2 separate regions of the Homo sapiens genome follow, and region 1 is linked to region 2. The links are contacts of gene promoters, found by promoter capture Hi-C in blood cells and fetal thymus (Javierre and others, 2016). All regions are on one chromosome and are shown on one strand. The core of a region is centred on a gene start or on the middle of the fragment in contact, and the rest is flanking DNA. Distances in the headings are between cores, read along the strand shown.

The links. The method cuts DNA at HindIII sites, captures the fragments that hold promoters and counts their contacts. A CHiCAGO score of 5 or more calls a contact.
Region 1: a fragment that was not itself captured here is called in contact with the fragment with the promoter of BRAF in region 2 in 1 of 17 cell types (total B cells); the score reaches 5.3 in total B cells.

What each region holds. Positions count from the first base shown.
Region 1 is chr7:139,361,979-139,367,730 of GRCh38, reverse strand. The region is part of intron 2 of FMC1-LUC7L2 (FMC1-LUC7L2 readthrough); the gene reads right to left. The region is part of intron 1 of LUC7L2 (LUC7 like 2, pre-mRNA splicing factor); the gene reads right to left. Among named protein-coding and RNA genes, the nearest start is that of LUC7L2, 5.0 kb to the right of the region's middle. The HindIII fragment of the contact is 1,311 bases long and covers 2,166-3,476 here.
Region 2 is chr7:140,920,673-140,926,466 of GRCh38, reverse strand. It overlaps BRAF (B-Raf proto-oncogene, serine/threonine kinase), which reads left to right and starts at 1,538. Exons shown (of 18, transcript NM_004333.6): 1 at 1,538-1,901. The coding sequence starts at 1,764. It overlaps LOC105375536 (a long non-coding RNA gene), which reads right to left and starts at 1,375. Exons shown (of 5, transcript XR_002956518.2): 1 at 1-1,375. RefSeq lists a silencer at 1,646-1,715. The HindIII fragment of the contact is 2,638 bases long and covers 999-3,636 here.

The sequences.
Region 1 (5,752 bases), core at 1,572-4,071, 1.6 Mb after region 2:
TGTCTCACAGGCTTGTATTTCTGTCCAGTCATTTCTGCTTACAGGCTTAGGTATATATATAGTTCAAACAGCTTTCCTTTCACATGAATACTCCCTGGAACAGTAATTTCCAAAGTATGAGATTTGCACAAAAGATGACTTTAGGTGTTACATGATTTTGCCAACAAGACATTTTAAATACCACTCAGTAAGGAAATTATTAATCACAATTAAGTCAAGAAAAAAAGTTCCCATTTTGCAACAGTACTTGTTTAATAAATTTAACAACTTCTAATTTTTAGCACAGGAACCCTAAGTGACAAGAGTCTAGTTACATAATACACCATTTTGTTTTCATTGTATTTATTTTTATGGTGGTATAAACTTTCATTTTAAAATTAACTTAAAATTTTTAGAAAGTGAGTTGACATAAAGGAAAATATTAAATAAACAGAAAACAGTAAATAATAATAAAGGCAAGGCCAGGCATGGTGGTTCACGCCTGTAATACCAGCACTTTGGGAGGCCAAGGCAGGTAGATCACTTGAGGTCAGGAGTTTGAGACCAGCCTGGCCAACATGGCAAAACCTCATCTCTACTAAAAATACAAAAATTAGCAGGGCATGACAGTGCATGCCTGTCATCTCAGCCACTCGGGAAGCTAGGGTAATCGCCTGAACTCGAGAGGCGGAGGTTGCAGTGAGCCAAGATCAGGCCACTGCATTTCACGCCTGGGAGACAGAGACTCTGTCTCCAAAAAATAAAAAATAAAAATAAATAATAATAAAGGCAATAAGTGTGACAAACATTTGGGAAACACTGATCTAGAAGAGGGTTTCTCAAACTTTTAATGTGTATCAGAATCACCTGGAAGGTTTCTAAAAACATGGATTGCTGGGGCCCATATCCAGAATTTCTGACTCAGTAGGTGGGTCCAAGAATTTATATTTCTAACAATACGACGTGATGCTGAGGTGATGCTGAATTGCTGCTCCAAGGACCACACTTGGTTTAGAATAACTAAACCAGAATGGTGATCAACAAGCTTTTGTTAGAGTCAAATGGTAAATGTTTTCGGTTTGCGGGCCATATGACTCTGTTGCAACCATTCAGCTCTGCTGTCGTAAGCCAAAGCAGCCATAGACATCATGTATATGAATCGGCATGGATGTGTTCCAATAAAACTTTATTTACCAAAAGCAGGAGGCCATAGTGCCAGTCCCTGATCTAAAACATACCTTCAAGTAACTTTAACTATTAAACTATTAAAGTTACTTTAAGAGAAAAGTCTACCATTTAAACTAATACTAGAGCACAGTACAGAACAGAACAGCCAGGTATATTATAGATACTATCCAATAATTATCAGTTAACTCTAAAAGAGAAAACTGGGGTCTGCAGAAATCTAAGGTATTAAGATTAAAAACAAAAACCATTTACCATATTCAGGAGACAAGATTCAGCAAGGGCAGCTGGTTAAATTCCTTTCATGTTGAGTCAAATAAGTCAAACATCAGTTGTACATGGTTCACAACTATACTGGAACATATGGGTCAATACTGAGTGCTTTTTGGAAAGAAGTTTTAAAGATTCTTTTCTATGCTAATAGCAAAATATGACATTTATTCAGCTGAATGGACTTCATGTTACTTTCTGACGGCTTTGACTTCTCAAAGTCCTAAGTTATTCAGTTCAAACAAAAACATGGAGCTGCAGATGATTTCAGAGTTTTCACAAATTAATTTCTCTATATCCTCAATAATCTTGCAAAACTGAACAACTGACCTATTTTGGCCCTGCCTTCCAATATCTATTCTAGCAGCTGCTAGTGCATGAGAACCTAAACAAAAAGGAAACAGAATAGCTTTTCTGCAAGTTTTGAATTCACAAGATTCCCTCTTCACTCCCTCATTCTTTTTCCAGTAAGATGTTCCAACTTCCTTCACCTTCTTATAGTTTCTTAGTAGATTAAGTTATGCCAAACTGCTTGTTTCCTCAAGAACTCTACATACTAACAGCAGTAGGCTTTAAGAATTCAGTCCTTTTCAAGCACCTTTCTGGAATTCCATCTTTGGGGAGTATCTGCCTCATTTAACTAGTCTTGCCCACTTATTGACCTTTAGTTTTAAACCATCTGCCTGTCTTCTCAACCCTCCTGCTTGCTGAACTCACAGCAACTTTAAGCTTCAATGCTTTGTATGAACCACCTGTTACTGAAGAGTACCTGATTCACTAAACCTGACCTTGATCCATGACACCTCATGGCCATTGAATTCCTACTACCCATCTTGAACACGTTGAACACTACCATCTATCCTTATATGACAACATCCAACCTAAACGAAAATAAAAGAATTTACTTGCTCCTTATAGAACTGATGCAGAAATAGACAAAATGATTTTTCTTTGTTTTGCTTATATTTACCTGAAGTAAAAGAATGTCTCAGAAGCATATGCTTACTTGAGGAGAACTAAACAACTGTAGAGAATCCAGGAACGATGCAATGTTATATGAAGTGATACTTTTATTGTTTTCTGGGCTGCTGTGTAGATAGAAATATTATTCAGAGTTCAAAATGCAAAATGAGGAAAACTTTTCTTTTTTCATTGATTCACTATGCAGGTGCTTTCAGTGTTTTGGATATGCCTGAAACTCTGATAAAGTTAAATAGTTAACTGAAACGCAGAGAAACTACTGTTTAATCCTATAAAACTCCTTATATTAAAGAATTTACAAGCTCTAGACTAAGAAATATCCTGTTATTATTTAAAAAATGTCTGCGTATACATTAAAGGCTCCGCCTCCTTCACTTAAAATGAACAATCCAAGTGGAATAAAAGAATGGCTCACAACTGACCAAGAAATGAATATGGTTCATTATGTTAATGAGAAAAAATTAAGAGAAAATGTTTTCAATGTTGATGAAAAGTCAAGGAACACAGATTACAGTAAAGATGATTTTATAAATAAAATCCATTAAAGAACGCACTACTTCAAACTTTGATTCAGTAATTTTGCAGAAAGGCAGAAATGTCATACTATCTTACAGATTACACGGTTATGTACTACTAACCTTACATTAGCAACAAGTAAATGGCTTTCTTAACAGTATTTTCCTGGGTATGAGGATGAGTATCCTTTCAGTTTTATATCCCACAAACTATAACTACTGTACAACTGATCAGCAAAAATATTATGATTAATATGTTAACTGAGGAAGTATATCCTACAATTTAGAAAGATTAACATTTAAAATAGTTAAAATTATTGAAAGTTTTAACTTGCCCGAAACAGTCCCTAACCATAAGGGACAATTAATGATGCTATAAAATTCTATCTAACATTCCTAGTCTACTTGTTGTTTTGGAGGGCAGGCTGCCATTCCTGCCTATTTTAATCTTTCGAAGGTGGTCTCTGCTCCCATTTAAAGGTATAAGCAATTAAGAGATACAGAACCCTCAGAACTACCTTCTATAACTTACCTAATTTCTAAGCTTAAAATGTAATCTAGGCTGGGCATGGTGGATCACCCGAGGTCAGGAGTTCGAGACCATCCTGGCCAACATGGAGAAACCCCATCTCTACTAAAAATACAAAAATTAGCCAGACGTAGTGGCAGCCACCTGTAATCCCAGCTACTCGGGAGGCTGAGGCAGGAGAATCACTCGAACCCAGGAGGTGGAGGTTGTAGCAGTGAGCCGAGATCGTGCCACTGCACTCCAGCCTGGGCAACAGAGACCCTGTCTCAAAAAAAAAAAAAAAAAAAAAAAAAAAGGATGTAATCTAAATCCACACCCTCAATTTTATTTAATTCTTATTGCTTGCATCTTCCCAGACTTTCCTGGGATCAAGACTAGAGACTTATGACCAAACTGTGTTTGTTGGCAAAGGGGCTTTAGCTAAGGAACATCCTTGCAATTAATCCAACTGAGCAAAAATCACAGTCTGTGTGAGGGTACTGGGTTCTTCCAACTGTCACACAGACAATTCTCAAACTGTTTCTTGGATTTTCCTGTGCAACTCCTCCCTGCTTTCAAATAGAATGAATATGTTCAGGGAAAACAAATTATCCCTCTCCCCTCTGCTAACAACTAAAACAGAAAGATATTTATAAAACGTAATGAATCATAAACAAGATAAAATAAACTAGTAATTACTATCTACTTATAGCTCCTTTCTAAAAAAACTTAAAATATATTTATTTTTCAACATTTCTGAGTATAACATAGGAAATTATTTGGTTTCCCATATAACAAATTACAGATTTAACTTGAGGCAAAAAAGGTTAAGTGACTTACCCAAGGTTACAATTAGAGGTACAGCTGGGGCTAGAAACCAGGTCTCCTGAGTCTCAGCCCAGTGCTCTTTTCCTTAGCCCATGATGCCTTATCAGAAAAATCCAAATACAGTCAGACCCCCAGTTATATGGGTATGAGTTACACTGATTCACATATACAAACTTTATATAGTGTGACCAATGTTTCAACTCACGCGGTACCCTGCTTCCATTTATGCAGTATGCCAGGCATCGGCACGATTTTCAGTGGCACACAGGCGGTTGCCACCACCAGGGCCCTAGGCAAAATTGCAAAGAAGGCAGAGTTTGTCTTTGGCCCTCCCACCTCCCTTATGCATTTCTCTCCCACCTCCTGGCAGTCCCCCTGCCCAGCCTCCCGGCACCATCATGCTGCCCTCAGATTGTCTAAAGCCCCCAACTTCCACCACTCACCCAGGAATGTCCTTTCTTGAAGTGCCCAGTGATCCAAAATTACCTCTCCATTTCCCTGCTAACAAAATTCCTACTCCTAAGGATTCCAGTGAAGTTTAGGTAATCTAAATGATTAACTACTTTATGTAATTCAAGTTAAGGTATATTTAACTAACAGACTTAAATCTCCAATGAATTTTAAAAGGAACTAATTAAAAACTGTCAGGAAGGGGAGGGGGAAGAAACCTTGAGGGGGTGAGGAGGTAATGTTTTCCCAAAGCCCCAGGACTCTGTGCCACTTCAGATTCCTTCACAGACAGGACACTAAGAGTGGAGGGGGTCACTGCCACCTTGAACCCCACTTCCAAAAAAGAGAGTCGCTGCTTTATAGTCTCTGGAATTAAAAAAAAAAAAAAAAAAGGACAGAGTTGCCTTAAATACCCTCCTACCTACCTTTTCCATCTCTCTCCCACCTCCTGGATACCCATTTCCACCTCTTAGTGCCAAAGACACCCAACAGCGTTCCCATAGGCTGTTTGTGTGTCCAATACAAGGGTTCCCATTAAATGGTTTCAAATTACATGGTGTTATTCAGGGGACGTTTCCATGTTCCCCTATCCCTGGGTAACTTGAAGTTGACTGTATGCTAAAAAAGAACAATCCTAATTATTAAAAGTCCTGAATCATAAAATGATATATATAAACTCATTAAATGGTAAGAAAAAAAAGAATGTTCTGATTATTTTGCATATATAGAATTAATTTTGATATCTAAAAAAAACTCCACTCAATTATTTTTCCTTGAAAGTAGTATATTTTTTACTTCTAACCCAATACAGCAGTGAAAATCCAGTCATTTCAGCTAAACAATACTGTGGACTCGTAAATATGAGTTCGATCATAAATCCTCTAAGTCTGAAGGTTAAAAAAAAAAATCCAGTAACAGACACATAAAAAAATACACAAAGTGGATTTTAAGAAATCCATGTTTCTGCTGACTACACACACAGAAATATATATATTTAAATTTAGCTTTGCAATACTAGACGGGCTGCCTAATTCAG
Region 2 (5,794 bases), core at 289-2,788:
GGCTCTGTTGCCCAGGCTGGAGTTCAGTGGTGCAATCTCGGCTCACTGCAACCTCTGCCTCCCAGGTTCAAATGATTCTCCTGCCTCAGGCTCCTGAGTAGCTGGGATTACAAGTGTGCACCACCACACCAGGCTAATTTTTTGTACTTTTAATAGAGATGAGGTTTCACTACGTTGGCCAGGCTGGTCTCAAACTCCTGGCCTCAGGTGATCCATCCGCCTCAGACTCCCAAAGTGTTGGGATTACAGGCGTGAGCCACTGCGCCCGGCCTACAATGTTCATCTTATAGGTTATATTTTTTCAATGCAGAAGAATGTTAGTATTCTCATTCATCAAGCAGCCTCACACAGCATCCTTTACCTGAGAGTAAGCATCAGCTCCCAGGCTTACGGTGACCCTAATCAATATGAAGACACCCTGTTTCAGAAGTCAGTAGGACACCTTTCTATTTCTTGAATCATCCAAAATACAGTAAGGAGGTCGCTGGTGACTTCCCCCATGATGGGAAGTACTAAAAGGCAGAATCCACTTAGTTTTTCATGACTTCATGTTTAGGTTACTTTGGTGATTCACTCCAGGCCATTGGGAGCCCACAGTAATTGTTTCTCATTCCCGTTTCTCTCTTCCTTAAACTTTTCTTTTCCAATTATTTATTCTTTATTAGATCCATGTATTTTTAATAATGAATTGAATTTCATTCTGTAATTGGGCTTCTCAAAGATAATTGACCTCTTCTCTCCCAATTGTTTTCATGCGTATTTTGCAGAGAATGCTTGGAATATTCTGTTCATGAAAGGCACAAAGTACATAAAATATTTTGAGTGATTTTCTTCAAAATAAAAATGATTAGTTTTGATGCTTCAGATGTCTAGAATGCTATGTGCCTTGTACAGGCCCTACGGCATGGAAAGTGCTCAACTGATATTTGTTAAATGAATGAATCTGGAAAACGAAAAATACACGAAATATTTTATTCCTCAACAATGAAGAAAAAGCTTTCAGACTTCCATTTAGACTCGTTTTAACTGGCTGAATTCTTCAATGAAAAGAAAACACGCGTCGCACTGCTAATTTAGCTGTTCCTAAATATATTTCCATCAAATTCTGCTTGGCTGTTTCAACCTTGGGGTTGAAGTTCTTATTTTGATGACACAGAGACGTTCATTGCAGTGGAAATAGCAAGTAGTATTGGCTTCCCCGCCTTCCTCCCTCTAGGATTTCAACTTCTCCTCCTCGAACACCAGCCCTGCTCTTCTAGTAAATCCCACATTACAGAACAGGCTGAGGACGGAGGAGACAAGAGGAAAGTAGGAAACCGGAGCCATGGAAACGGCGGAGCGGAGGCAAAGTGTGAGAGCGCGGGTGGTTAGAAGGGAAAAAACCCTCCCCGGACGACGGCGCGAAGGCGCGCCTCAGATTACGTCACGCACCGGGGTGACGTCACGACCGTGACACGCGGGTGACGCCGTTGCCGCGGCGACTTCTCGTCGTCTCCGCCCCCTTCCCCCGCTCCCCCCCGCACCCCCGCCTAGCGTCCTTCCCCCAATCCCCTCAGGCTCGGCTGCGCCCGGGGCCGCGGGCCGGTACCTGAGGTGGCCCAGGCGCCCTCCGCCCGCGGCGCCGCCCGGGCCGCTCCTCCCCGCGCCCCCCGCGCCCCCCGCTCCTCCGCCTCCGCCTCCGCCTCCGCCTCCCCCAGCTCTCCGCCTCCCTTCCCCCTCCCCGCCCGACAGCGGCCGCTCGGGCCCCGGCTCTCGGTTATAAGATGGCGGCGCTGAGCGGTGGCGGTGGTGGCGGCGCGGAGCCGGGCCAGGCTCTGTTCAACGGGGACATGGAGCCCGAGGCCGGCGCCGGCGCCGGCGCCGCGGCCTCTTCGGCTGCGGACCCTGCCATTCCGGAGGAGGTGAGTGCTGGCGCCACCCTGCCGCCCTCCCGACTCCGGGCTCGGCGGCTGGCTGGTGTTTATTTTGGAAAGAGGCGGCGGTGGGGGCTTGATGCCCTCAGCCACCTTCTCGGGCCAGCTCCGCGGGCTGGGAGGTGGGCATCGCCCCCGTGTCCCTCTCCGTCATGCAGCGCCTTCCTACGTAAACACACACAATGGCCCGGGGGGTTTCCCTGGCCCCCACCCCAGATGTGGGGATTGGGGCAGCGGTGGTTGAGCGGGAGGCTATCAATAGGGGGCGAAACTCAGGGTTGGTCCGAGAAGGTCACGATTGGCTGAAGTATCCAGCTCTGCATCTCTGTGGGGTGGGGGCGGCGGCGGCCTCGACGTGGAGGATATAGGTTAGTTGCTGGGGCTGAGACAACAGCCCGAGTTACTGTCGCGTGTAATTCTTACATGGTCGTGGGGATGATGGGGCTCATCATTTCCTCTCTCCTCTCCCGGACTGCCCCCCTTCTCAGTCCGCTGCCCTTTTTCACTTTTCTATTTGGGGATTTCTCTTCACCTGTTTTACCCAGCAAATTATTTTGATTTAGTCTTTACTTTTTCAATCCTAAATCGCAGTTTCCGATGCCTTTTCTGGTCTCTGGTCCTCTGTTCCTAATGTTTGTCAGCGCTCTGTCGCTGATTGGTAACCCCCATTCTATTCCCATCTACCGCCCGCTCATTTTCCAGTTGTCGGACCTGCCTGCCTTCTAACCCCAGCTCCCACTTAAGAGCATTTTTGCACTTCTCTTACCCTGGTCCTCTTGAGGCTCTGTACTTGATCTCACCACTCCCTAACATTGTTGTCTGTTGTTATCTTCACAAATCCTCCTGGACACTTTGGAGCTACTTGTTTTCTGAGCCCAGAAGCTGTCAAGATTCCATCAGGTTTCACTTGGCTCTTTTCGCGCTTGCACTACTGGCACTTTTTGGCTAGTCGTCCATTGTGCATTCACACCTCTTTATTCCTACCCATTTTTATAGGTCTGATTGATTTCTTAGTGTTGTCCTCCTTTTTGTCCTATTTTTTTCCTTTTCCTTTTTCCTCTCCAGTCCTTGCTTCTCTCAGCCTGTTTTTGCATTAGTCAGCCTCTTAGCACTGTGTCAAATTATTTACGTTTTTTTATTACATAAAATTTATTACAAATATTTGGTATTTTATTACAGAAAATAATACTTTATTATGCTTTACAAATAAGATATGGTATAATAATTGTGGTTTACAGTTATTGATTAGGTAATGTGACTTACTCTGTTGACTTTGCTCGAAGTTCTCTTTGCTACTTACTATTAACATCTAATTTCTCAATTCTCATAACATCTCATTCTCTCTGCAATTTTTTTTTTGCATCATCATCTTTGGAAATTCATCCAATATGCTTGCTTTATTCAGCATCAGCTTGTTTATGATAATGTTTGTTTTCTACTCTTTATATCATCTTTGTTACATGCCCAAAATGTGTTCTGTACCATCATTTGATCTGTTCTAAAATTTCTCATTTTTAAGTTTCTTAAAATCATTCCACTTTTCAGTATGCATTTTTGCTTAGATCAGTTTCCTCTCATATCTGTTCCTTTCCCCCAGCTTCTTGATTTCTAAGGAGAAAGCTCTTCTCTACTTCAATTTCCTAGTTTATTCTGTTTCCCTTGTTTCCAGTTACCATTCATTTTGCCTTGTTTCCTGGCTTTTGGTACTTAACTTTCTGAAGCTTCCTCTTTTCTTCTCCACACCTCCACGTTCCTTCTTATTTATAAACATCTTTGTTTCCTTTGACATGGAAATTTATTTTTAGGATACATTGTTTTTAATGGATAAATACTAGGGGTCACATCTGCTGTCTGTTTTCTCCAGGAATCGGATATGCCTTTGTCTTAACCAGGCACAGGTGCCTCTGGATTTTATTTTACTCTGTAATAGATGTGTAGTTTTGTTGAATTGTATCTTGTTTGAAGACTACTACAGAGTGGAACAATGAGTGAAGTAATAAGTAGGGGTTATGAAATTGTAATTCTCTGATTATAAAATTGTTTATCTTGGGAACTTTGCTGCAGAGTTATTAGAACCGTTTGCAATTCTGTAAAGAAGGCTTTTGTGAAGTAAAATCTCTACCCTTCTATTTTATTTGAAAGGGCCAGATTGTTTGGAACTGTACCCCCTGAAGAGTCTGATTTAGTAAGTGAGAGCGAGGGCCATGGATTTCTGTATTTGGCACATGTCTTGAGCAGTTCCCATGTACCAATCCTTGAGAACCTCTAGGCTAGCTGAATTTAAGTATAAATTGCCAGTAATTGGAAAGCATATTCATATCTTCTGAAACTATAAGGATACTCTCATTTTACTTGGTTAAAAAACAAGTGTTTCCTACTGTCCTCTTTACCCAGGTTTTAATGTTTAGTGGTGAACAGTAGTTTTCCCTCTACATTTTTTTCTGAACTGATAATAAATGTATTTGGCTGGGAGGGTGACATTGATTAAAAAATGTATCTCTTGAATGTAAATATCAGTATTACAGATGATAAAATAAATTCCTCCAAGAAATAATTTTAAATTTGAAGTTGATATTCAGTGGAAACTGAAATGTGCTGTGGTCTTTTATTTGAAGTCTTCCTTACATTCACTTAAAGGGATCTTTTACTGCAAATTACATGGAAAGAATGAAAAGGTTTGCTTGTGTGTAATGACACATTTTATTCTGAAGATTTATTTTACCTAACAGTAAAATGTAGGTTTTTTTTTTTTAAATAAAAGTTTCCCAGAGGGAAATTTCATCTAAAAAAAAAGTCTGATTTCAAAGGGAAAGCAAGTCATTATCAAAAATTAGAAAACTATAAGTACAAAAAGTAAAAAATCATCAGTAATTTTGCCACTAAGATATTATTACTATAGACATTTTGGTGTATTCCATCTGTTCTTTTTTAATGCTTTTATAACACTATGTAGTTTTGTATTTTAAAAAACTTAAAGCAAAAATTTCTACGTATTATTAGACATACTGTGATTTATTTAACTAATCATTTTTTTGGGGTGTTAGGTTGTTTTTAATTTTTTACTGCCATCAAACATCTTGAACATAGGATGTAGATTTTAGTCTTTAAAATATGTTGGGGAATGAACAAATTTCACATCCTGTATTTGTAGTATTAATACTTTGTAGGTGCTCAAAATAGAATATTCTGGTAAATGATTAGTGCTTATTAAATATTTATCAAATGAATGTACTTGTACTTTTGGCATTAAACATTAACATCTGACCATTTATATTTACCTGATTTTTTTTCTATGGCCATATGGTATGAAATAGTGTATGGTATAAATTAACCATATGGTATAATAAATACATTTTTTTAAGTGTGATACCAGAGTGATATTTATTAACTGTTCTTCCTGTGCTGTTTCTGTAGAAGGGAGCTTCTCACAATTGCATTAGAATTACAATTTTATTATGTTCTGTTTTCAAGATCTCTGATCGTCAGTCTTAAACTGTTTAATTATAATAATGTATTGACTAGGGAATATTCTGGGATATAATCTCCTTTATAATGAGGTCCACTGTATTAAAATACATCTTTGCAAGCCACACCAGGTTGGATTGCATCATAACCCTGAAAAGTGGTATTCTCATTAATGCAGGTGCTTGTGCAGTTTTGGCTATTGCTGTTAATACTTATACAGATATATTCACAGGTGCCCTTGTGGCAAAAATCATAAAATAGTTGTTTGTCTTTGGTATTTCTAGTGTTCACTTTCTATATTCTTTTCTCTCTCCTTATTTACTGAACTCCCTTCTTTAGGCATCCACTCACTCCTTTTTCTGTTTAGAATATTATCTGTCAGTCATTTTATATGTTGGCCATTAAAGGAATAAACT